Regions from separate parts of the Homo sapiens genome. Here all the other regions are linked to region 5. The links are contacts of gene promoters, found by promoter capture Hi-C in blood cells and fetal thymus (Javierre and others, 2016). All regions are on one chromosome and are shown on one strand. Each heading gives the region's core, a stretch centred on a gene start or on the middle of the fragment in contact. The rest is flanking DNA. Distances are from core to core; before and after follow the strand shown. Region 1 has its middle 15 kb from the start of TRV-CAC1-2. Region 2 has its middle 2.5 kb from the start of BTNL9. Region 3 has its middle 18 kb from the start of BTNL9. Region 4 overlaps BTNL9 (butyrophilin like 9). Region 5 holds the start of OR2Y1 (olfactory receptor family 2 subfamily Y member 1).

Evidence for each region. The method cuts DNA at HindIII sites, captures the fragments that hold promoters and counts their contacts. A CHiCAGO score of 5 or more calls a contact.
Region 1: a fragment that was not itself captured here is called in contact with the fragment with the promoter of OR2Y1 in region 5 in 1 of 17 cell types (monocytes); the score reaches 6.8 in monocytes.
Region 2: a contact is called between a fragment that was not itself captured here and the fragment with the promoter of OR2Y1 in region 5, in 1 of 17 cell types (monocytes). The highest score is 6.5, in monocytes.
Region 3: a fragment that was not itself captured here is called in contact with the fragment with the promoter of OR2Y1 in region 5 in 1 of 17 cell types (M1 macrophages); the score reaches 5.3 in M1 macrophages.
Region 4: a fragment that was not itself captured here is called in contact with the fragment with the promoter of OR2Y1 in region 5 in 1 of 17 cell types (neutrophils); the score reaches 7.5 in neutrophils.

The regions. Positions count from the first base shown.
Region 1 is chr5:181,079,980-181,084,335 of GRCh38, forward strand. No RefSeq gene overlaps it. Among named protein-coding and RNA genes, the nearest start is that of TRV-CAC1-2, 15 kb to the right of the region's middle. The HindIII fragment of the contact is 5,034 bases long and covers 1-4,356 here.
Region 2 is chr5:181,035,468-181,040,126 of GRCh38, forward strand. No RefSeq gene overlaps it. Among named protein-coding and RNA genes, the nearest start is that of BTNL9, 2.5 kb to the right of the region's middle. RefSeq lists a silencer at 693-1,071 and an enhancer at 1,316-2,242. The HindIII fragment of the contact is 946 bases long and covers 2,519-3,464 here.
Region 3 is chr5:181,019,597-181,024,140 of GRCh38, forward strand. No RefSeq gene overlaps it. Among named protein-coding and RNA genes, the nearest start is that of BTNL9, 18 kb to the right of the region's middle. The HindIII fragment of the contact is 4,483 bases long and covers 148-4,544 here.
Region 4 is chr5:181,060,470-181,065,161 of GRCh38, forward strand. It overlaps BTNL9 (butyrophilin like 9), which reads left to right. Exons shown (of 11, transcript NM_152547.5): 11 at 1-1,052. It also overlaps the pseudogene RPL13P10. Among named protein-coding and RNA genes, the nearest start is that of MIR8089, 19 kb to the left of the region's middle. The HindIII fragment of the contact is 3,034 bases long and covers 1,235-4,268 here.
Region 5 is chr5:180,738,146-180,742,525 of GRCh38, forward strand. It overlaps OR2Y1 (olfactory receptor family 2 subfamily Y member 1), which reads right to left and starts at 1,913. Exons shown (of 1, transcript NM_001001657.1): 1 at 978-1,913. The coding sequence starts at 1,913. The coding sequence ends at 978. The HindIII fragment of the contact is 9,223 bases long and covers 1-4,380 here.

The sequences.
Region 1 (4,356 bases), core at 785-3,284, 340 kb after region 5:
CTTAAGTTCAGGAGTTCCAGACCAGCCTGGCCAACATGGCGAAACCCTGTCTCTACTAAAAAATACAAAAAATTAGCCACGCATGGTGGCATATCCCTGTAGTCCCAGCTACTCGGGGCTGAGGCAGGAGGAAGTCTTGAGCCCGGGAGGCCGAGGCTGCAGTGAGTCCTGATCGTGCCACTGCATTCCAGCCTGGACGACAGAGTGAGACCCTCTCTCGAAAAAAACAAACAAACAAAAAACTATGTAATTCATGCCATCACCAGGCTAAGCAAGAAAAATCATATGATCACATAAATAGATGCAGAAAAGCATTTGACAAAATTCAACACCTAGTTATGATACAAACTCTCAGTAAACTAGGATAGAGGGGAATTCCTCAAATTGATAAAGAACATCTATAGGCAGAGCATGCTGGTTCATGCCTAAAATCCCAGCACTTTGGGAGGCCAAGGCAGAAGGATTGCTTGAGGCCAGGAGTTTGAGATCAGCCTGGGCAACATAGAGAGATTCCATCTCTAAAAAGAAAGACACACACACACACACACACACACACACACACAGAAACATCCACAGAAAAAAAACTAGCTAACATCATACTTAATGGTTAGTGAGAAACTAGGTGTTCTCTCCTTAAGATCAGGAGCAAGGATGTCCCCTACTATCATTCTTATTCAACATTGTACTGAAGTCCTAACTAATGCAAGAAGATTTTAAAAAGGAAATTAAAGCTATACAGATCAGGGGGAAAAAAGAAACTGTCTTTCTTCACAGATGACATGATTGTCTATGTAGAAAATACCAAAGTATTGACCAAAAACTCCTGAACTAGCAGATGATTATAGCAAGATTTTTTCTTTTCTTTTCTTTCTTTTTTTTTTTTTTTTTTGAGATGGAGTCTCACTCTATTGCCCAGGCTGGAGTGCAGTGGCTTGATCTTGGCTCACTGCAACCTCTGCCTCCTGGGTTCAAGCGATTCTCCTGCCTCAGCCTCCAGAGTAGCTGGGATTACAGGCACGATCCACCACGCCCAGCTAATTTTTGTCATTTTAGCAGGGACCAGGTTTTACCATGTTGGCAAGGCTGGTCGTGAATTCCTGACTTCAGGTGATCTGCCTGCCTCGGCCTCCCAAAGTGCTGGGATTACAGGCATCAGCCACTGCACCAGCCAGATTACAGCAAGATTACTATGTAGTGAATTATCATAATTTTATGTTGCCTCAGCACCCATTTTTCAGGGAAGTTTAACTTTCCTATGCCGGAAGGAGAGCTCAGTCACCCTTGACACAGTTTTCAGGTTCTACATCTCCTCCCAGTTCCTCAAGGTGGTCAGTCCAGATATCTGCTGTGCACAGCTGCCTCCCGGTGCCCACCTCCGCATGGCACAGCTACATACAGCCCACTCGACTAGCCCTGCATACTCTATGTAGTGGGATGGATGGCTGCACGTGAGATTTCAAGTCATAGTGGGTACCTTCGGACTGCTTGTTTAATTATGCTCATCAGATGCCTGACTCAGGTTTCTCCAGTAGCCTTTAGTGTCTCTGCTACTCAAATGGCACCCATGATAAGGCACAAGGTCTAATGCCTAGACATTACAGGGTCAATTTCAATGGTATTGACACAGCAGAGGTTTCTGCCTACGTATTAGAAGAACACCACACCCTAATGGCCCAAGCCAGTGGCCAAGGATAAAAACCTTGGAGGAACCTCTTCTGCCTAGTTGACTGGGCTCCCCACTTTCCCACCGCTTCCTTTAAATGGACCATTCAGGTATTTGCCCTTGAACTTAAAGCCACCCACAGTGTATTCTCCAACATACACTTCTAATTTCTGCATTCTTTCTCCCTGCCTGTACTCCCTAAACTAACCTCTCTGTGTGGGGGGCCTCCAAGCATGTCATATACTACCAGAACCTATAAGTAATAAAATCTTTATTTCTATTTTGTGTCTCTCCTAATCATTGAAGGGTTGCTCTCCATTTTAAAGATCATAAGTTTTAAAATACAGGACACAAAGTTAATAAACAAAAGTCAATTGCTTTACTATATGCCAGCAATAAACAATTGGGATTTAAAAATTAAAAATACAATAACACTAACATTAGCACTTAAAAAGTACTTAATAATAAATCAAAAAAATGGGTACAAGGTCCATATAAGGAAATCTAATGAAATCAAAAAAAGTTCTAAGTAAATGGAAAGATATTCCATGTTCATGGATAGGAAAGCTCAATCTTTTAAAGATGCCAATCCTTCCTAATTTCATCTACAGATTCAATGTAATCCAATCAAAATCCCAGCAGGTTATTTTATAAATACTGACAAACTGATTCTAAACATTATATGAAAAGGCAAAAGACCCAGGAGAGCCAACACAGTATTGAAGAAGAAATAAGTTGGAAGACTAATACTACCTAAAGGCTTACTATAAAGCTACAATAATCAAGAAAGTATAGTGTTGGCAAAGGAATAGACAGCTAGATCAATGAAGAAGAATAGAGAACAAACAGATCCACACAAATATACTTAACTGATATTTTGACAGGAATTAAAAGCAATTCAACAGATAATGTATGGTCTTTTCAAGAAATGATGCTGGAATATTTAGGCATGCATGTGCCAAAAAAAAAAAAAAAGGAAAAAAACATGAATCCAGACACTGATCTTACACCTCTCACAGAAATGAACTCAAAATGGATTATAGACCTAAATTTAACATGCAAAACTACAAAACTTTTACAAGAGAACCCGGGGAAAATCTGGGGAAGTTTTTCAAAGCATGATCCATGATCTATGAAGAAAAACGGGTATGTTGGACTTCACTGAACTTAAAAACTTCTGCTCTGCAAAGACATTGTTAGGGAAATGGAATGACAAGGCACAGACCGGGAGAGAATATTTGCTGAATACATATCTAACGAGGCACTTGTATTAACCAGCAATACCAGCACTTAGGGAGGCTGAGTTGGAAGGTTCACTTGAGCCCAGGAGTTCCAGATCAGCCTGAGAAACATAGGGAGAAAATTTTTTTTTTTAAATGTGCTGTGTGTGGTGACACTTGCCTATAGTCCTAGCTACTCAGGAGGCTGAGGCAGGAGGAACACTTGAGCCCGGGAGTTGCAAGCTGCAGCAAGCCATGATCATGCCACTGTACTTTAAGCTGGGTGAAAGAGCAAGATTCTGTCTCATAAAATAAAACAAAACAAAACAAAAAAAACTGAACAATAAGAAAACAATTCAATTAAAAAATATGCAGGCTGGTGTGGTGGCTCACACCTGTAATCCCAGCACTTTGGGAGGCTGAGGCGGGAGGATTGCTTGAAGCCAGGAGTTTGAGACTGGCCTGCACAACACAGCGAGACCCCAGGTCTACAAAAAAATAAAAAATTAGCTGGGCATGGTGGCATATGCTTGTGGTCCCAGATACTCAGGAGGCTGAGTAGGGAGGATCGCTTGAGCCCAGGAATTGGAGGCTACAGTGAGCTATGATTACACCACTGCTCTCCAGCCTAGGCAACAGAGCAAGACTCTGTCTCAAAGAATAAAAATAATGATCAAAAGATCTGAAGAGACGTCTCACCAAAGAAAATGTACAGATGGCAAATGAACATATGAAAAGATGCTTGATATCATTCATTATTAGAGAATTGCAAATTAAAACAATGAGATTTCACTACATGTAAAAATGGCTAAAATCTAAAACAATGACAAACACCAAATGCTGACATGCACGGGGCAAGCGATAGTCACCTGAAGACAGTCTGACAGCTTTTTACACAGCTAAACATAACCTTGCCATATGAGCCAGCAATTATGCTCCTAGGTAGTTACTCAAATGAGTTGAAACATTTGCCCATATAAGCATCTGAACATGAATGTTTATAGTAGCTTTATTCATAATTGCCAAAAACTGGAGGTAACCAAGATACACTTCAAAAGGTGAATCAACACATTGTGCTCTGTCCTCATAATGGAATATTATTCAGCAATAAAATTAATGATCTCTCAAGCTATGAAAAGACACGGAGGAACCATAAATGCATGTTACTAAGGGAAAGAAGCCAGTCTAAAAACTGCATACTGTATAGTTTCAATTACACGAAATACTGGAAAACGCAAAATTATAGAAATAGTAAAAAGATCCGCGGTTGCCCCGGTTCAAGGAAAATGCATGGATAATAGGTAGAGTGCAAGAGATGGTCTGAGCATTGAAACTATTCTGTATGATACTATAATGGTGGATACATGGCATTTTGCACTTAGCAAAAGACTTTGTAACAAAAGAATAAACTCTAATGTAAACCACGGAGTTTAGTTAATACTTGTTTAGTTAATACTAGCGTATCAACGCAGG
Region 2 (4,659 bases), core at 1,742-4,241, 300 kb after region 5:
AGTAATCAAAGTACACTTCCATAAGTAATCTGTGGCTGGGCCAGTGCCCACATGACACTGAAAGGACATGTTACCTACCTTTTTGCCTTATTTGGAAATTTAACATAATTTTTTTCTTCAAAAGTTCTCCTCCTGTTAAAGCAAACAGTATTATTTGTTCCCTAAAGGTGCCTGGAGAGAGTGTGGATGAAACAGGAGAACCCACCGTCTGCCGGGGACAGCAGGTTTGAATAACCAAGAGCACCCTCTTTAAGAAACGACCTGGTTATTTGTTTTTAATTTGTAATGGAGACAAGGTTTCACTGTGTTGCCCAGGCTGGTCTAGAACTTCTGGGCTCTCGAACTCCTGGACACAAACAAGACCCTTGTTTCAGCTTCTCAAAGTGCTGTGATTACAGGCGTGAGCCACCACGCTCAGCTCCCCCTAGTTTATTATTATTATTATTACCACCTGTTTATGCAACTCAAACCCTGTCAAACTGCGTTTTGGCTGGCTCTCTGAAAAGGTGTAATATAAGGGCACCAACCCACTTCCCTCCTACAAATGGTCGGGACTCAGATGAGCACTGTTTTCACAGGGTCTCCTCCATAACCAATGGTCGGGACTCAGATGAGCGCTGTTCTCACGGGGTCTCCTCCATAACCAATGCTCACTCTACCTGGCGTAAGCCCGCAGCTGGAGCTCCTTATTCTACCCACTTCTGTGTGTCAGGAGAAGGTGCTGGCTACTTCTTGCAGTGAAGGAATTCCTCCGAGCTAGGGATGCTCCGTGCTGATCCCTTTGGGCAGCACCACTCAAGTCACCCTCGAAAATGGCTTGCCTTGGCGAGGTCAGGCTGTTTGGGAGTAGAGGGTGTGTGTGGCTCCTGCAGCCCCCACAATCTCAGGAGCCAAAGATGAGCACCTGTGGCTGTGAGGGCAGCAGTGGGCCTCTCCTATCTCCCAGTGCCTGTGCACGTCTCTATCTGTGTGACAAAGCACAATGGGGGGCACTGTGCCAGCTGACAGGCACAAGAATGTCAGTGTGAGCTCCCTGGAGAACGGAACAGGAGAAAATGAAAATGCAGTAAGGAAGCTCAAGGGCCATGTTGTGGGCTGCCGGGGAAGGTGGATGGGGGATCGTCAGAAAAGGAGGAATTCACTACTTGCGAGGCTGGCATGACTTTGCTTCTATCTCCACTGGTAGCCCACGCTGGGCGTGAGAATAGCCTTTGCCCTGGGGATGAGGATTCTCCCATTAGCCCCTCCAGAATTCCCTCAGACGACCTCATGGTGAGGGCTGCTGTGCACCACGGAAGCTATATAATGGGGCATGTTCTCCGCTGTCCAAGTGATGGCTCCATGCTGGCCTGGCTAGCCCCTAGCCTTTCCTACCCCACACGTGCCAATCACCTCCCTCCACGTGATGGCCGCTGCCATCACAGGGGCTGCAGCAGGGAGGCCTGGCTGGGGCTGCATACTTCACGGAGCCAGTAAGAGCTCTGCCCCTTCTGAGATGGGGCGGGAGCTCCCCGGGTACCGCTGCAGTCACCCAAACTGTGACTGCAGACCCAGGCCTCCTGCTGTACAGATCAGGCAGGATCCCAACCCTCCTGTGTGGGTCTACAGCCACCCAAACTGCAGCTGTGGATCCAAGCCTCCCTGAGCTCCTGGGTGGGAGCCAGGGGCAGGCAGGATCTGCCCTTCTGCGTGCAGCTGCAGCCACCCAACCCACAGCTGCAGACCTCAGCCTCCTGCTCCACGGAGGAGGCAGGAGCCAGGACAAGCAGGAGCCCTGCCCCTTCCGAATTGATGGGGCAGGAGCTCCCCGGGTGCAGCTTCGGCCACCCTCCCAGGAGCAGGACCCCGGCATCTGTGCATTCTGCACCTCCAGGGCCTGGGAAGAACCACCCTGTACCCAGCCCCCCAACCCCCATCCCTGCAGGCTCAGGGCTGTCTGCTTCCCACTGCCTGGCCTCTCTCTGCTCCCACTCTCAGAGCGGGGTTGGGGCCTAGCCAGGGACCATAAATGGCAGTGGGAGGCAGACAGAGTCCCTGGAGGGAGAAGGCGGGTCCCCAGTAAGGCCCCGCCTTCAGGCCAGGGAGGGCCTGAAGGCCTGGCTGCCAGTCCCTCTGACTGGAGTGGGGACTTGTGGTGTCTCCCTCTGGCTGCCCATGGACCAATCAGCATGCACTTCCTCCCCTCTGAGGTGCATAAAAGCCTGAGGCTCAGCCAGAGCAGGGCAGAGGATGGAGAAACGATGGGATGGCCAGCTGCAGAGAGGAGCTACCCTCTCTGCTGAGAGCTTCAGAGACCTGCAGAGGTGTTCAGAACAACTTGCCTGTGGAGAGGAGCCACTCTCTCCAGGGACTTCTGTCTGCTGAGAGCAGCAGGTGGCAGGAGGACCAGTGGGCAGAGAGGAGCTACCCTCTCAAGGGCCTTCTCTGCTGAGAGCTGAACACTCAGTGGGAGGGGAGGACTTACCTACAGAGAGGAGCTCACTGCAGATCACCTCTGAGCTGTTCTAGCATTCAATAAAGCTTCTCTGCATCTTCTTCACCCTTCACTTGTCTGTGTACCTCATGACCTCATTCTTCCTGGAGGCAGGACAAGAACTCAGGTGCCACAGAGGTTTCTGGGAAGAAAATTGACACCCAAAAATCCCACACAAGGACAGATGAGGGTCCATTCTCTCCAGTGGCACCTATAGTCCGCCAGGGGTTCAGCACCTACCTTCATTTTGGATCTGAGCCTTTATGCATTTACTGGGTCTTGGAATGGGAGGTTCGGCTGGCAGGGACAGCCGCTGTCTACATCTTTCCTACTGCATGATGCGCCTGATATGCAGGCGGTGGTGGCAGGTGGGGTCCCCCTCCCACATCCCACCAGGGCTGTGTCTAGGAGCCACAGAAGTGGACTCTGCCCATTTCTCTCTCTCTTTGCATTTCTGCTGTGACAATCTCACCTCTCCCCAGGCAGCATGGAGGAATCCAACCTAAGGGCAATGAAAAGTTTAGGCCATGTTCTCGTTTTCGAGCAGCCCCTCTCTACAAGTGCAATTTTCCTTCTCTTTCACTTCCCTATGTGGCATGCAAGGGCCTCTGCAATGTGGTCCCATCCACTTCTGTTCAACCTTCCCTTCCACTAGTGAGCCACACACTGGTCTGGCTAACCCCTAGCCTTTTCCTACCTCCCACATGCTAATCACCTCCCTCCACGAAGAATGTCTGTCCTCGCAGGCTCTGTCCTCCCGGGCTGCCCATGGCTTCCCTGATCCTACTGTTTATGCAGCATCCATCTTAAGTATACCCTGTCCTTGAGCCCTCCTCTGTCTCCCCAGGCCCGGGGAACTGCACCCACTGTTTGAGCTCACTGTTCAGCCCCTTTTGCTGTCCTAGGGACATCTGTTCACATTAATAAGCCTGGGTGCCCAGTCTCACCAGCCTGTCTGAGCACAGACAGTCACCTCCAGGTCCATGCCTGAAGCTTGCTGGCTCCCGTCTCCCACCCATGTAGCGCCCTGTCACCTGCAGAGGCCCCTCTACAAACACAGGCACTTCTGGGAGTCCCTGGGGTGTGCTACTGAGGCAGAAAATTTAAAAATACATATGCCTTCATTCACTCCAAGAAAAGTAACAGGCAAGGCAAGGGTTAAAAAGTAAAGGACAAGTTTTCCTCTGCCTATAGCAAGCCCACTGCAAGGACAGTTATAACAGTGTCCAGAAAGCCAAGGCCAAAGGAATGGGCTCCAGATACCCGCCGCCCCACTTCCAGAGCAAGGTTGAAGGAAAAAGAGAGAAAGACAAATTCTTTTACTGTTACTGTTTTCCCAGGCTTCTTAAGCATGATTGTGTTTTACAAATGTCTGTACTTAGCCAGTTCTTGTTTTTCTTTCAATGCAGCTACAAAGTCACCCGCTGTGCAAGGCCACAAGTTATGCTATGCTATAGATTATGTGACCTATCATGATTAGCTGCTTTTGTTTTATTTATTGTAAGTCCACTTACAAAAACCCCGCTCTGTCTTTGTTTAATGCTCAGCTTTTTGGATGTGAGTCCACTGAGCCGGTGTGTACCTAAAATAAACAATCCTCCTGTTCTTCACATCGGTCTCTCCGGTCCTCAGTTTCCCACAACACTGCATGTGCTTGAGCTGCTCGTGCCTCAGCTCTGGCCTGTTCCCTGGAGGGGACGTCAGTGTGGGCTGCAGCTGGGTGGCTGGTGCCTCAGTCCGCTAATGCCCAAGTTGCACCATGGCCTACAGTAAGATGGGGTGGGCTGGGCTGGGGTAGTGCTTGCTGCTTCTTTTCTGACCTCTTCTCCACTAGAGAAATCCCAATCCAGCACCCTCCTGCATTTCTAAGTTGCACGTGAACAGGTTTTGCAGGTTGCCTCACGACAATGCCCCCAGGATTTGTTCCTTACTGACCTTGTCCTGAGGAGAAGGTTATGGTGGGTTAAAAATTGGTCATCAGCCCCTTCCTCGTGGTTAGTTAGTGGAGACTGCAGTCTACTCTCTTTCACTGTTCGGGGACTGCTACCCTGCCTCCTTGGAGTCCGAGCTTCACTGGCACAAAGACCCTGAACCCAGCTGGAGCGTTTTCTCCTCACTTTGAGCCTCTGCAGCTGTCGCTCTCTACAAAGCTCTCAGATACCTTTCCCCTCCTTCTGTGACCCTGG
Region 3 (4,544 bases), core at 1,139-3,638, 280 kb after region 5:
GTCTGATATTACCATTGGAGAAAGCTTACTTGGAGGTACTCAAGACTCTGTATTATTTTTGCAACTTCCAGTGAGTCTAAAATTGTTTTAAAATAAAAACTATCATTTAAAAAGCAACTTTAAGTGTACAATTATCTCCAAATGAAAAGCTTAATGAAAAACATGATTCATCGGTGTTTCAGTTCATTATAATGGCAGTGGAAACCAGGAAATGTGAAACAGTTTCAGAGATTCAACTAGTGTTAGCACACATCAAATAGTAATGAAACAAGGCTTTTAAAAAATCCCTAACTTCCAATATTAGAGCAATTATCTTTAATCATAACTGAAGGATGTCATTCACTGTGCCACCCAAAGTAAATAAGGACGAAAATTATGAATAAGAAACAGTAAAAAGTTAATATTACATAATATGGTAGTCAAAATAGAACCAATGAGTGCCAATATAATGAACCTCTCCCCTCAAAAATCCCAACCTCCATGTTGCTTTTCATAACAAAGGTGAATAAAACAAATCAAAGCAGCTATATACAGGAACACAGGTCCTGGTGGCTGTTACTGAGACCCAGGATAGTGTCAGGGTCAAATCTCTGTAGAAATTAGCTATTGGAGGCTCTAAGGACCCTGCCTCCTGGGGCCTTCCTCTGAGTTTTCCCCTTAGGGTAGTGGGTAGGGAGCTGTGTTGTAGGTCCCAAATCAGGAGTTAGGCTAGAGAGCGATATCAGCAAGATGGCAGAATAGGAAGTCCCATGCTTCACTTCTCCCCCAACATAAAGTTCAACTAGAAACCATCCACAGACAAGAACACCTCTGTGAAAACTCCAAAACTTGGGAATGAGCCTGAGACAACTATGTGGACCACAGAGCCAAATAAAAACCATATTAGAAGGGTAAGAGGTATGGTCTCGCTTTGACCACGTTGCTCCTCCCCCTCCCCCAACTCCACACAGCACCACACAGAGAAGATTCACTTTGATGCGTAATTTCTACAGTGAGAAGAGGGCCAGAGGCAGACATCCAGCTTCCCTAGCATTCTAAAATGCTTCCCAGGAGGCCTACCACTCTGGCCCTTTCTCACGGGGAACACTGAAAGTATGGGCAAGACTAGACTGTCGTGGGTCAGGTGGAAACAAAGAAGTGAAGCAGAGGTCACAGTGATGGTAACATGGATTGTTCGGGTAGCTCTGTGTTCCTGCCAGTGATGGTGCCCAGTCAGAAGTGCCAGCCAATGGCAGAATCCACCCACAAACCTCAGCTAGTTTCTCCCAGAAGTTGTTCAAACTGGCTTGAGTACCTAGATGGCCAGCCTCCGTGACCAGCCTCAGCCCATGCCAAGGCCTTACTCAGGCATGAAAATTTCCACCACAGTGTGTTTAGGCAAAGCACAAGGGCCACATGTACTTGACATGAGAGGCCAAACAGACACTTGACCCAGCTACAAAGCCCACCCAAGGCTCTGCCCAAGCAGGGAGATACCTGCCACCACACATTTTTACAGAGCACAGGGGCTGGACCTGCCCAACACAGGAGACCACAGAGCAGTTTGAACCAACCCCAGAGCTCACCCCAAAGCTGGAGAGCAAGCCCATATCATGCATGTTTACTGAGCACAGCCTCTAGTCTAGTTCATCCTGAGCAGCATTCTGCCTTGCCTTTGGGTCCATCCTGCAGTCCTGTCCAACTGCAGAACTCAAATAGCAAAACTGCTTGGCCAGGGAATATATGCTGTGACCTGGCCTCATTAGTGGTAACTGCAGTGCCCAGTCAGCAGTTCCACGTGATCGCAGAGCCTAGCCAGTGGTCTCGCTGGACAGTAGAGCCCAGCCAGGAGCCCCACTTGACCTCAGATAAAAGGCATCAGCCCACCCAACTAGAGAACTCAACAGCAAGCTCTACCTGCCTGTGGTCACTACCAGCTGGCCCATCCAGAATCACAGGCTAAACTAAACAGTGAAGGTTAATTCCTGTGAATGAATACCTGTAAAGGCTGGAAGAGGTGGCAGTCTCCTCAAATGTACAGATGCCAACACGGGGACATAAGGATTAGAAAGAGGGAAGCATGAACTATAAAGGAATGTAGATTTATGTAATGACTGGCAAAAAAAATCAGGACAATTCTCTTAAAGAATTTCAATGAACTATAAGAATATACAGATAAAAAATTAAATAAAATTTGGAAAAAATAGATCAATAAACCAAGAAATAGAAACAATTTTTAGAAACCAAATATAAATCCTAGAGATTAAGAATACAATGACTGAACCAAAAAAAGTCAACAGAAAACTTCAACAGCAGACTCAATCAGGGCAAATAAAGAACTGATGAGCTCAAAGACAGAAATTTTAAAAATTATCCAGTCAGAAGAGCAAAAAGAAAAAGAATAAAAATGAAGAAAGACTACATGAGTTATAGAATACCATCAAGAAAACTAATTTTTGCATAATAGGAGTTGCAGAAGAAGAGAAATAAAAAAGATGAGAAAAAATGTTACGAGAAATAATGGCTAAAAACATCCCAAATCTGGGAAGAGATACCAACATTCAGGTACAGGAAGCTCAGGGGTCCCCAATTAAATTTAAACTGAAGAAGAGTTCACCAAGACACATAATAGTCAAACTACCAAAAAGCAAAGGAAAATTCAAAGCAAAGAGATTAGAAACATACCACATACAAGGAAATATCAATACAGCCATCAGCAGATCTCTCAGCAGAAATACTGCTGAGGAGAGAGTGGGATGATACATTCAAAATGAAGAAAAAATAACCAAGAATACTTTACCCAGCAAAGTTGTCCTTTAGAAATGAGGGAGTGGCCTTTCGTTTCAGTGTAAAGCACTCTCTTTCCTGTAAGTCAGGCATAGTAGTGATAAATTCTCTTAGCTTTTGTTTGTCTGGGAAATATTTTATTTCTCCCTCATTTCTAAAGGACAACTTTGCTGGGTAAACTAGTCTTGGTTATTTTTCTTCACTTTGAGTGTATCATCACACTCTCTCCTAAGGCACAGTAGTGATGAATTCTCTTAGCTTTTGTTTGTCTGGGAAAGATTTTATTTCTCTCTCATTTCTAAAGGACAACTTTTCTGGGTAAAGTATTCTTGGTTATTTTTTCTTCACTTTGAATGTATCATCCCACTCTCTCCTCAGTAGTGTTTGTGCTGAGAGATCTTTCCCAGACAAACAAAAGCTAAGAGAATTCATCACTACTATGCCTGACTTACAGGAAAGAGAGTGCTTTACACTGAAATGAAAGGCCACTGATGAATACCATAAAACACATGAAAGCACAAAACAATGGTACTGGTAACCGAGTCATATTCAGAAAACTCTAGGACTAGAAAGGTGGTGTTAAAGCAATTTTATCTCTAGTATGACGGTTAAGAGACAAAACTATTAAAAAATAAATTGTTAAGGAATACAAATTACAAGATTACATAAATTCTGATATCAAAAGATAAAATGTGTGTGTGTAGGGGACAAAAATGTACAACTGTTAGATATTTTAGTTAAACCTCATGATAACCACAAAGCAAAAACACATAGTAGATGCACAAAACAAAACATAAATAGGATTCAGAGTATACCACTACAAAAGAACTATAAAACTACAAAGGGAGACTAAAAAAGAAAGAAAGAAAAAAAGGATCTACAAAACAAAAATTACAAAACGGTAATAGTAAATACTTAACAGTATTTACTTTGAATGAAAATGAATTAAATTCTCCATTCAAAAAAAGTAATGGCTGAATGAATTTTTTTAAAAAGGCCCAACTATATACTGTGCTATAGTTTAAATGTCCCTGCCAAAATTCATGTTGAAACTTAATTGCCATTGTAACAGTGTTAAGTGATGGGACTTTTAAGGGGTGATTAAGTCATAAGGACTCTCTGGTCTCATGAATAGATTAATGCAGCTATTTTTAAAAATTTATAATTGCCTTGTCTTATGGTTCTGAGATTAATGCTATTATCACAGGAGTGGATCAGTAATCACAGCAGTGAGTTCCTGATAAAAAGGATGAGTTCAAAAGATGGTTTGCTAGAGGACCCTAATGCCTGTACTCCCCACACCAAAAAAAAAAAAAAAAAACAGGACCCAAATGATGAATAAATAACTACACTTGCACTGTAGTGTATAAGGGAGAATGCTGGCGTACAGCAGGAAAAGACAGGAAACATGATGTAACTAGACCGTTTGGAAGGGCTGCATAGAAGCAAAATGAGGACACTCAGCCTCTGCTACACTGTCTTCCCAGCCAGGATTAACTCAAAAAAAAAGGCACTTCCCCCAGCAGGAAAAAGGTAACCAGGAGGCCCCCAGGAATCCCCACTGATATCACAGATACCTGCAATCTTTGCTGCTAGAGAATCCTGCAGCGCCCACAGGCCCTGAGCCCCGTTGGGGGAGCTGCCTGGCATCCCTGAACTGCACTACCCCAGAGAAGGAGCCCACATTGTAGCCCACTCCCTAACACATTACCAAAGCTGCAGCTGTATGGCACCATCTTGATACTGGATCCACAGCCACAGTGCATCCTGCTGCAGGA
Region 4 (4,692 bases), core at 1,502-4,001, 320 kb after region 5:
GGCCGAAGGGGCCTCACTGACCAATTGTGGGACAATTTGAACATCAGGATGAATAATGACAGGAGAGATTATAACACACTGAATAAAAACATAATCCATGAGTTCATGCTGATACTCAAATTTCTTTTTAAAAAGGAGAAACAGGAAGGTTTCTTTTGGAGGTGAAATCTAATTATTGGTGAGAGTCTTGGAGAACAGGCTGTTTCCAGTCTCAAAGCAGTAACCTTATACACTACTTATAAGTTTGAAAGGGGAAAGGTTACCTTTACAATGGAGACATCTACCAGATCATCCAAGTGATTAAATTTAACATCATCAATGATGGGACCAAGGACATTATTAGTTTGACAACTGGGGAAAGAAGTGTTCTTCACCCCCTACCCCCAAGACATTGTCTCTGTCGGCCAGGCTGGAGTGCAGCCTCAACCTCCTGGGTCCAAGTGATCCTCCCACCTCAGCACACAACACCATGCCCAATTTTAAGTGCGTTATAGAGACGGGGGTCTCACTTTGTTACCCAGGCTGGTCTCAAACTCCTGCGCTCAAGCAATCCTCCCACCTGGGCCTCCCAAAATGCTGGGTGTACAGGCATGAGCCGCTGTGCCTGGCTTCATTTTCAGAGTGAGACATTTGTACTGTGGCTATGTAGGAGAACATTCTTGTTCTTAGCAAACATACTGAAGTTTTTAGATATTAATTACCACAGTGTCTGCCACTGAATTTCCAGTGACTAAGTGGAAAAATATAAAACATATGAATATAAAGAAAGAAAGAGACAAGTCAAATGTAGTAAAATGACAACACTTGGTGACTCTAGGTGACTGGTCGACAGATGTTCATTGTACTATCAATGTGGCTTTGCTGTGGGTTTGAAATTTTGCAAACTAAGAGTTGGGTGGCGGGGAGAAGGATACACCAAAAAACTAAGTGATTATCTTTGGATGGGAAAATGTTTGGTAATTGCATTCTTAAAATGTCTTCTTTGTATTTTTTAATGTTCAATAATGTATATGTATCAGTTCTGTAATAAAGGGGAAAACACTTTTTTTAAATACTCATATTCAAAATCATTCATTTGAAAGGAGCTATAATGAAACTGCTGGACGATCTCCTAGGCCATTGTTTCAGAGTAAGTAAATATGGCTCTCATCCCCTTCCCCTTAATCCAGGCAGAGCTTTCCTTGCCCGTCTTGTTTGAAAGGGGGAATGAGGAAGGGAGACTGGTCCGCAGCCAAGCTTTCTAACTGGTCTTTCCTCCTTCTTCCCTCTTTCCCTCTCCTTTTCTTTTCCTCTTCATGGGGACTGAGATTTCTACTAGGGCCTTTAGCACCAGGATGGGAACGGATGGGGCAGGGACACCTCTGGGATGAGCTTTCGCCCCACAGGCCCGGGAGTTCGGTTACGTACCAGAGGGAGGTGGCACAAATAAAAAAATTCACTAAGTGGCGCTGAGAGTCGGGAATTCACTAAGTGCGCTGAGAGTCGGGTTTCGCTGTCAGTGAAGGGAAATACGAAATACGGAAAGGGGAAAGGAGAGGATGAGGGTGACTCTGAGGTGGACTGGAATGAGATGTATCAATGTGAATGCGTGGGTTTTACTGCATGTAGAGAGATGGAATGCACGCACACACGTGGACAGATACACAGATATGTGTGGGTGCATGCAGATCGTTCCCAGCTCTGTCTTGTTTGAAGGCTTAGCAACAATAACACCCCAGTACCAACGGGCACACCGAGACCCAGAACTTAGTTTTTAGTACGATTTTCAGTAAAAGGAATAAAGTCTCCTTGGAGAAATGGTTGAGTCCAAGGCTGGGGCAGGGAAAATACAAGGAGAGCCTACAATATCCTACACCAGAAAATAAGGAAGTAGGTTGCACAGAAGAGCCATGTCGAATGGATTTAGACGTCAGAATGGATTTTGAACCCCTGAATCAAATAGGAATCCATATGTATATTTCCCCACTGATATACATACATACATACATACATACATAAACAAATTCATGGAGAGAAGAGAAAGCTCTGCCCTACAATAGGAGTCTGAAAATATTACTTCTTAACTCATAAGTACAAAACACGTACCAATTAACTTTACAGTGGAGGAGGCTGGCAGGCGCCACCTTAGCCAAATGACAAAAGTTAACATCACCAGATGCGAAAACAGTTTACATCACATTCTTCCTGATACAATGCAGAATACAAACGGCATCACTTTTGAGGTATTCCTGCACCCAAAAATGCATAAATCAGGAGGAAACATCACAGAAACTGACTGGTACTCTTCAACAATGTCAAGGTCATGAAAGACGGGACAACACTAAGGAACTGCTTCAGACTAAAGGAAACAGGACAACTAAGTGCAACAGGTGACCCTGGATGGGATCCTGGATCTATAAAAAACATCACTGGGCCAGACAAATTGGCTCAGGCCTGTAATCCCAGCACTTTCGGAGGCTAAGGTGGAATGATTGCTCGAGTCCGGCGGGGGGAGATTATTGGGGGAAAAAAGGGCATTTTGAAAGAGGTGTGTGGATTAGATAATAATATTGGATAAATGTTAATTTCCTCATTTTGATGTAGAAGAATGCTTTTAAGAAAATGCACACTTACATATTAAGGGGTAAAGGATTATGATGTTTATACCTTATTTTCAAATGGTTCATTAAGACATATAGTAATATAAACAAAAGAGAGAGAGAATGATAAAGAAATGCAGTGGTGTCTGATAAATGTTTAATAACTGGCTTTCTAGGCTGGGCGCGGTGGCTCATGCCTGCAATCCCAGCACTTTGGGAGGCCGAGGCGGTGGATCACAAGGTCAGGAGATCAAGACCATCCTGGCTAACACGGTGAAACCCCGTCTCTACTAAAAATATAAAAAATCAGCTGGGCGCGGTGGCGGGTGCCTGTAGTCTCAGCTACTCGGGAGGCTGAGGCAGGAGAATGGCGTGAACCCGGGAGGCGGAGCTTGCAGTGAGCCGAGATTGCACCACTGCACTCCAGCCTGGGCGACAGAGTGAGACTCTGTCTCAAAAAAAAAAAAAAAAAAAAAAAAAACTGGCTTTCTGAAAAAAAAAATATTGAGCCAATTTCCCTGGTGCAAGTCCTCCCACTATGGTTGATTTCAAGCTAAAGATGTGACACCACTGAGGGCAGACTGGGAAGTGCCTTAGTCAGCTCTCGCTGCTGTAACAAGATGCCACACACGGGGGAAGTGCCTTAGTCAGCTCTCGCTGCTGTAACAAGATGCCACACATGGAGGAAGTGCCTTAGTCAGCTCTCGCTGCTGTAACAAAATACCACACACGGAAGAAGTGCCTTAGTCAGCTCTCGCTGCTGTAACAAAATACCATACACGGAGTGGCTTGTAAACAACAGAAATTTATTTCTCACAGTTTTGGAGGCTGCAAGTCCAGGATCAGGGTCCCAGCACGGTCAGGGTTGGCGAGGGTTCTCTTCTGGGTTGCAAACTGCTGCTTTGCTTTGTATCCTCACATGGCAGACAGCAAGAGAGTTCTCCAGGGTCCGTTTATATTTTTGTCTTTTAAATTGAGACAGGGTCTTGCTATGTTGCCCAGGCTGGTCTGGAACTCCTGGCCTCAAGTGACCCACCTACCTCAGCCTCCCAAACTGCTGAGATTACAGGCATAAGTTACCTCATCCAGCCCCTACCAGGGTCTGTTTCTGTTTTTTTTGTTTGTTTTTTGTTTTTGAGACAGTCTCACTCTGTCGCCAGGCTGGAGTGCAGTGGCGCGATCTCAGCTCACAGCAACCTCCACCTCCTGGGTTCAAGTGATTCTCCTGCCTCAGCCTCCAGAGTAGCTGGGACTGCGGGCATGCACCACCACACCCAGCTAATTTTTGTATTTTTAGTAGAGACAGGGTTTCACCATGTTGGCCAGGGTGGTCTCGATCTCTTGACCTCATGATCTGTCCTCCTCGGCCTCCCAAAGGACTGGCATTAAAGGCGTGAGCCACCCAGCCTCTAACAGGTCTGTTTTTACAAGTGCATTAATCCCATCATAAGGACTCCACCCTCATGACCTAAGCACCTCCCAAAAGTCCCACCTCCTACTACATTGCATTGGGTGTTACGATTTCAACATGTGAGTGGGGCATGGTGGAGAGGGACACATTCAGACCATAGCAGGAAGAGACACCCATGATCAGCTCTCATGAGATGCCAGCTCCAGAGACCATTGTTTGTGCAATTCTAGAGGGAGATTGTAATTTGTTTCTCCATCAAGTCAGATAAGTGCATTTTAAGCTTATGAAAATATTCTTGGTCACCTGTTGGGAGAAAGCTATTCCCCTTAATTAACACATGATATTCAGAAAATGGAAGTTTTTTTTTCTAGAGTCATTTGCATTAGTGTGAGAATATTTAGGGTTCTTACTCATGAATGTTTTTGTGATAACATTAAAAATATGTTCCCTCTCCATCTGTAGCTATTATTCCTTTAAGACTGTATTTATGTGATAAATAAGAAAAGCAAACATACAGCTAATATAAAAAACAATGCTAAACTGTGTTTAAATAATCAGTGGACACCATCAGCCCACTTTAAATGATGGGCAGGCTGTTTTCCAGTGCAGGAGGGCTGTAGGCAGCCAGGGGCCCCAGCTGGAGTGGCATTAAGTTCAAACCCCTCTCTCACAAGGGCTGACAGCGGCACACAACCATGTGGC
Region 5 (4,380 bases), core at 663-3,162:
TGTTGTAGCTAGTAAGAGTCTATGCTCCCTTTACTCAATGCCACCCTAGTGATTTTGTCTTTTTCTTCAAGTGTGTAAATGACATCCAAACCTGAAACTCTGCATGCTCCTTGAAGTACCTCTGTTTATGATCTCCTTATTTGCTCCAAATATCGGACATGAATAACCTCTGTTAGAGACCTTAGAAATGGGTTCTGAGATGTGAGCGTCTACGGCAGGGTCGCAGTTACTTAGAATCGGGGGAACTCATTCTGTCTGCCTCTGGGCACAGTGCATCTGCATGGCACCACGTTGGGAGTCATTGACCTTGGGAAGGTGTTGTCATTCCCTATTAAATCTTCTATCACTCTCAGTCTTGCCTAGAACCCATCCCACTCTCCATAAGTGGACACAATACACCCTCTTCTCAAGCTGGTTCCTTTGGAAAGTTGTGATAAAAACCAGCACTTACTGATGGCTGCACAGTGATCACAGACACTGAGCAAGAAAGAGTCCCAAGAGATCCCTACTTCCAGTTTCTAAACAAGGAAGGGACTAAAACTCTGAGGACGGCCATGCGCGGTGGCTCACACCTGTAATCCCAGCACTTTGGGAGGCTGAGGCGAGTGGATCACCTGAGGTCAGGAGTTCGAGACCAGCCTGGCCAACATGGTGAAACTCTGTCTCTACTGAAAATACAAAAATTAGTAGGGCGTGGTGGTGGGTGCCTGTAATCCCAGCTACTCGGGAGACTGAGGCAGGAGAATCACTTGAACCCAGGAATCCAAGGTTGCAGTGAGCCAAGATCGTGCCACTGCACTCCAGCCTGGGCAACAAGAGTGAAACTCTGTTCCCCCCGCCACCAAAAAACAAAAACAAAAACCAATTCTGAGGATGACTGAGGGCTTTCCTACTGACCAACTGCCCTCCAAGGAACAGGGAAAGATCTGTGATTGAAGAGCTATTACAGAAAATTTTACTGCTCATTTTTTCACCTCCTACCCTGAGTCCCTGCCCCTCCATAGTACTTTCCACAGAGCCCCCTTCACGTCCTTGTTTCTTAGTGTATAAATGAGAGGATTGAGAATGGGGGTAATTATAGTATAAAAAAGGGCAACAAATTTTCCCTCACGCTCAGAATAATTGTGGATGGATTGGAGATATGTGTAGATGGCTGAGCCATAAAAAAGGAAAACTACTAGGAGGTGGGACCCACAAGTCCCAAAAGCCTTTCTGCGCCCAGCCGTTGACTTCACCCTCAGCACTGCATGAGCAATGTGCACATAGGAGCCTAGAATAAGTGCTGCAGGAACAGCCACGACTATGACTCGGGCCACAAACATCTTGGCCTCTGTTCCTTCTGTGTCCGCACAAGCCAACTTCAGAAATACAGGCATCTCACAGAAGAAGTGATTCAGTCGATGGCCACAGAGAGGCATGGCCATTGCGAGACCTGTCTGGATCAGAGAGTTCACGAAACCCGCACCCCAGGAGGCGATAGCCAGGGTCTGGCAGAGATGGGGGTGCATGATGGCCATGTAGTGGAGTGGACGACAGACAGCAGCATAGCGGTCAAAGGCCATCACCACCAGGAGCACACACTCTGTGGAGCCCAGGGCTAGGTAGATGAAGAGCTGAGCCACACACCCTCCACGGGTGATGGTGCGGTCCACCCCGCAAAGGTTGATCAGGAGCTGGGGCACGGTGCTGGTGGTGAAGCAGAGGTCCAGGAGGGACAGATGAGAGAGAAAGAAGTACATAGGTGTGTGCAGCCGAAGGTCTAGCCAGGAGAGAGCGATGATGATGGTGTTGCCAAAGAGAGTTAGGGAGTAGAAAATAAAAATAAAGACAAACAGGATGGGCTCCAGTTGCGGCCAATCTGAGAATCCCACCAAAATGAAGCCATCTTCAAAACTGGTGTTGAAACTTCCCATGGCCTTTTGCCTGTCTGAACAGCAGAAGGAAGTGCAATGCCTCCTATACTGAGCACAAGCTACAACATTATTTCGCAGGATTCCCTGAATACTAAATCATGCATTTTATTACCTATTTTGCTCTGCAGTTTGTTGTGTCTGGTGTTCTTTCCCTTCTCTTATTCAGAGTGGAAATCACTGGCTTGGGAATCATATGGCCTTTGTTTGAATCCTAGTCCTGCTGCCTGTTTGTTCCAGGACTTCACCCAGGTCAGTCAGTCCTTTAGATCCAACATTTCCTTGCCTAAAAGTAGAGATGATGTATCACAGCAATGAGATTAAGGTCAAATGCAATAATGTGGAAGCTGCTTTTAAAAGACTCAGATGTAACAGGTAGCATTACTATTCTATGTTGCTCCCATTTGCTCCTTTGCTGGTCTAGCAGGTGGCCTCTTTCAGTAGGGTTACCCCCCATGCCTAACCAGGCTGGGAGCCCTGTTTGACCTCTGGGTGCCCACCTGCTTTTTTCGACTATGGACAGCCCATACAATCCCAGAAACCCCACGCACGACCAGCAAATGACTGAGAAGAGTGTAGATCCCTCCTTTTGGAGAAGAAAAAAAAATCAATTAGCAACAAATATATTTCCTATGGTGTGTCATCATGCCTGAAATACCACACACACACGCACACACGCACATACACACTCCCTTCAATGGCTAAATCCATTCCTCAGCTGCCCAAGAAGAGTTATTTCCTCCTCTCTAGCCCAACCCTCTTTGTACAGTTTCTTTCTGCACTTGTCACACTCGCTGGAATTCTTTTTGTATGTCTTTGTCCCTCTCTGAGCTGTGAGCTCCTTAGTGGTAGCTAACATAATGAACGTAAAATAAATATTAGTGTCTTTCAGTGGGGCACGGTGGTTCACGTCTGTAATCCCAGCACTTTGGGAGGTGGAAGTGGGTGGATCACCCGAGGTCAGGAGTTTGAGACCAGCCTGGCTAACATGGAGAAACACTGTCTCTACTAAAAATACAAAACAAAACAAAAAAATAGCCAGGCTTGGTGATGGGCACCTGTAATCCCAGCTGCTCAGGAGGCTGAGGCAGGAGAATTGCTTGAACCTGGGAGTCGGAGGTTGCAGTCAGCCAAGATTGTGCCACTGCACTCAAAAAAAGAAAAAGAAAAAAAAAAGTAGTGTCTTTCTTTATGCTACACACAAAGTGCTAAATTAATATTTTCATTCAGGGCACATAGTAGATTTTGAATAAATTTCATTGAGTGAAACATGAGGTTATCCCTTCAAATCTCATCAAAATTTATTTCTTCTAGAAAACCTGAGATTACCAACATATTTTGATAAACTGTGAAAGTGAGATATGCATAAAAATTTGCTCTACGTTAAAGTTCACATTTCTTATGACAAAACGTCTAAGTAGGATTATAAGAAAGTATGTCAGAAAGCAAAAAAGGGAAAAGGAGCCTAGAATATGCTCTATATGAACAATTTTTGCCAAATTAACTCTGTCCTCTTTTTGTTAAGTTTACTGGACTGAAGATCATCATCAATGGATCAATGCTAGATCAATGCTAGATCAATGACTCAAGTAAGGCATTTGGACACCACCCTTGATGCCCTTGTGGAAAAGATGAATAAACTGTGGATTAATAATAGCAAAGAGGTAATTCATATGTAGCTTAACCGATACATCAAAGCCATTTTTTGAATGACCACCATAGCAGACCACAATGGCTTTCCCATTCATATCGGTCCCTACAGATCAACTCTATTGCTGACCAGCTGTGACATCTATTCTGGGAAATTTTGTTTCTGTGAGTCTCAGTTTACTTACCTATAAAACAGAGAAAACAATTTATTTCAAAGGATTTGGATTGGGATTAAAGGATGCGATACATTCCGTAAGCTACAAAGAATATGTTACATATACTTTTAACACTTGTCTGTCTGTATCAGTAATCTTCAAGTTCCATGCAACTGAGTCTTTCACTTACCGTTGTATCCTTATCTTCCAGTGCAGAACCTGGTGAATAAAATGTTCTCAGCAAATATTATTGAATGAATGAATGAACACGTTCCTAAAGCTGGCGCCATATTCAATGCACACAAATGTTCCAGAAAGATTTGTTTCCCATGCAACATGAAGACATTAATACATTGGCAATGCTTCTTGTTTTTGTTTGTTTGTTTGTTTGTTTATTTGAGACGGAGTCTCGCTCTGTCGCCCAGGCTGGAGTGCAGGGGCGCGATCTCGGCTCCCTGCAAGCTCTGCCTCCCGGGTTCACACCATCCTCCTGCCTCAGCCTCCCGAGTAGCTGGGACTACAGGCGCCCGCCACCGCGCCCGGCTAATTTTTTGTATTTTGAGTAGAGACGGGGTTTCACCGTGTTAGCCAGGATGGTCTCGATCTCCTGACCTCATGATCCGCCCGCCTCGGCCTCCGGAAGTGCGGGGATGACAGGCGTGAGC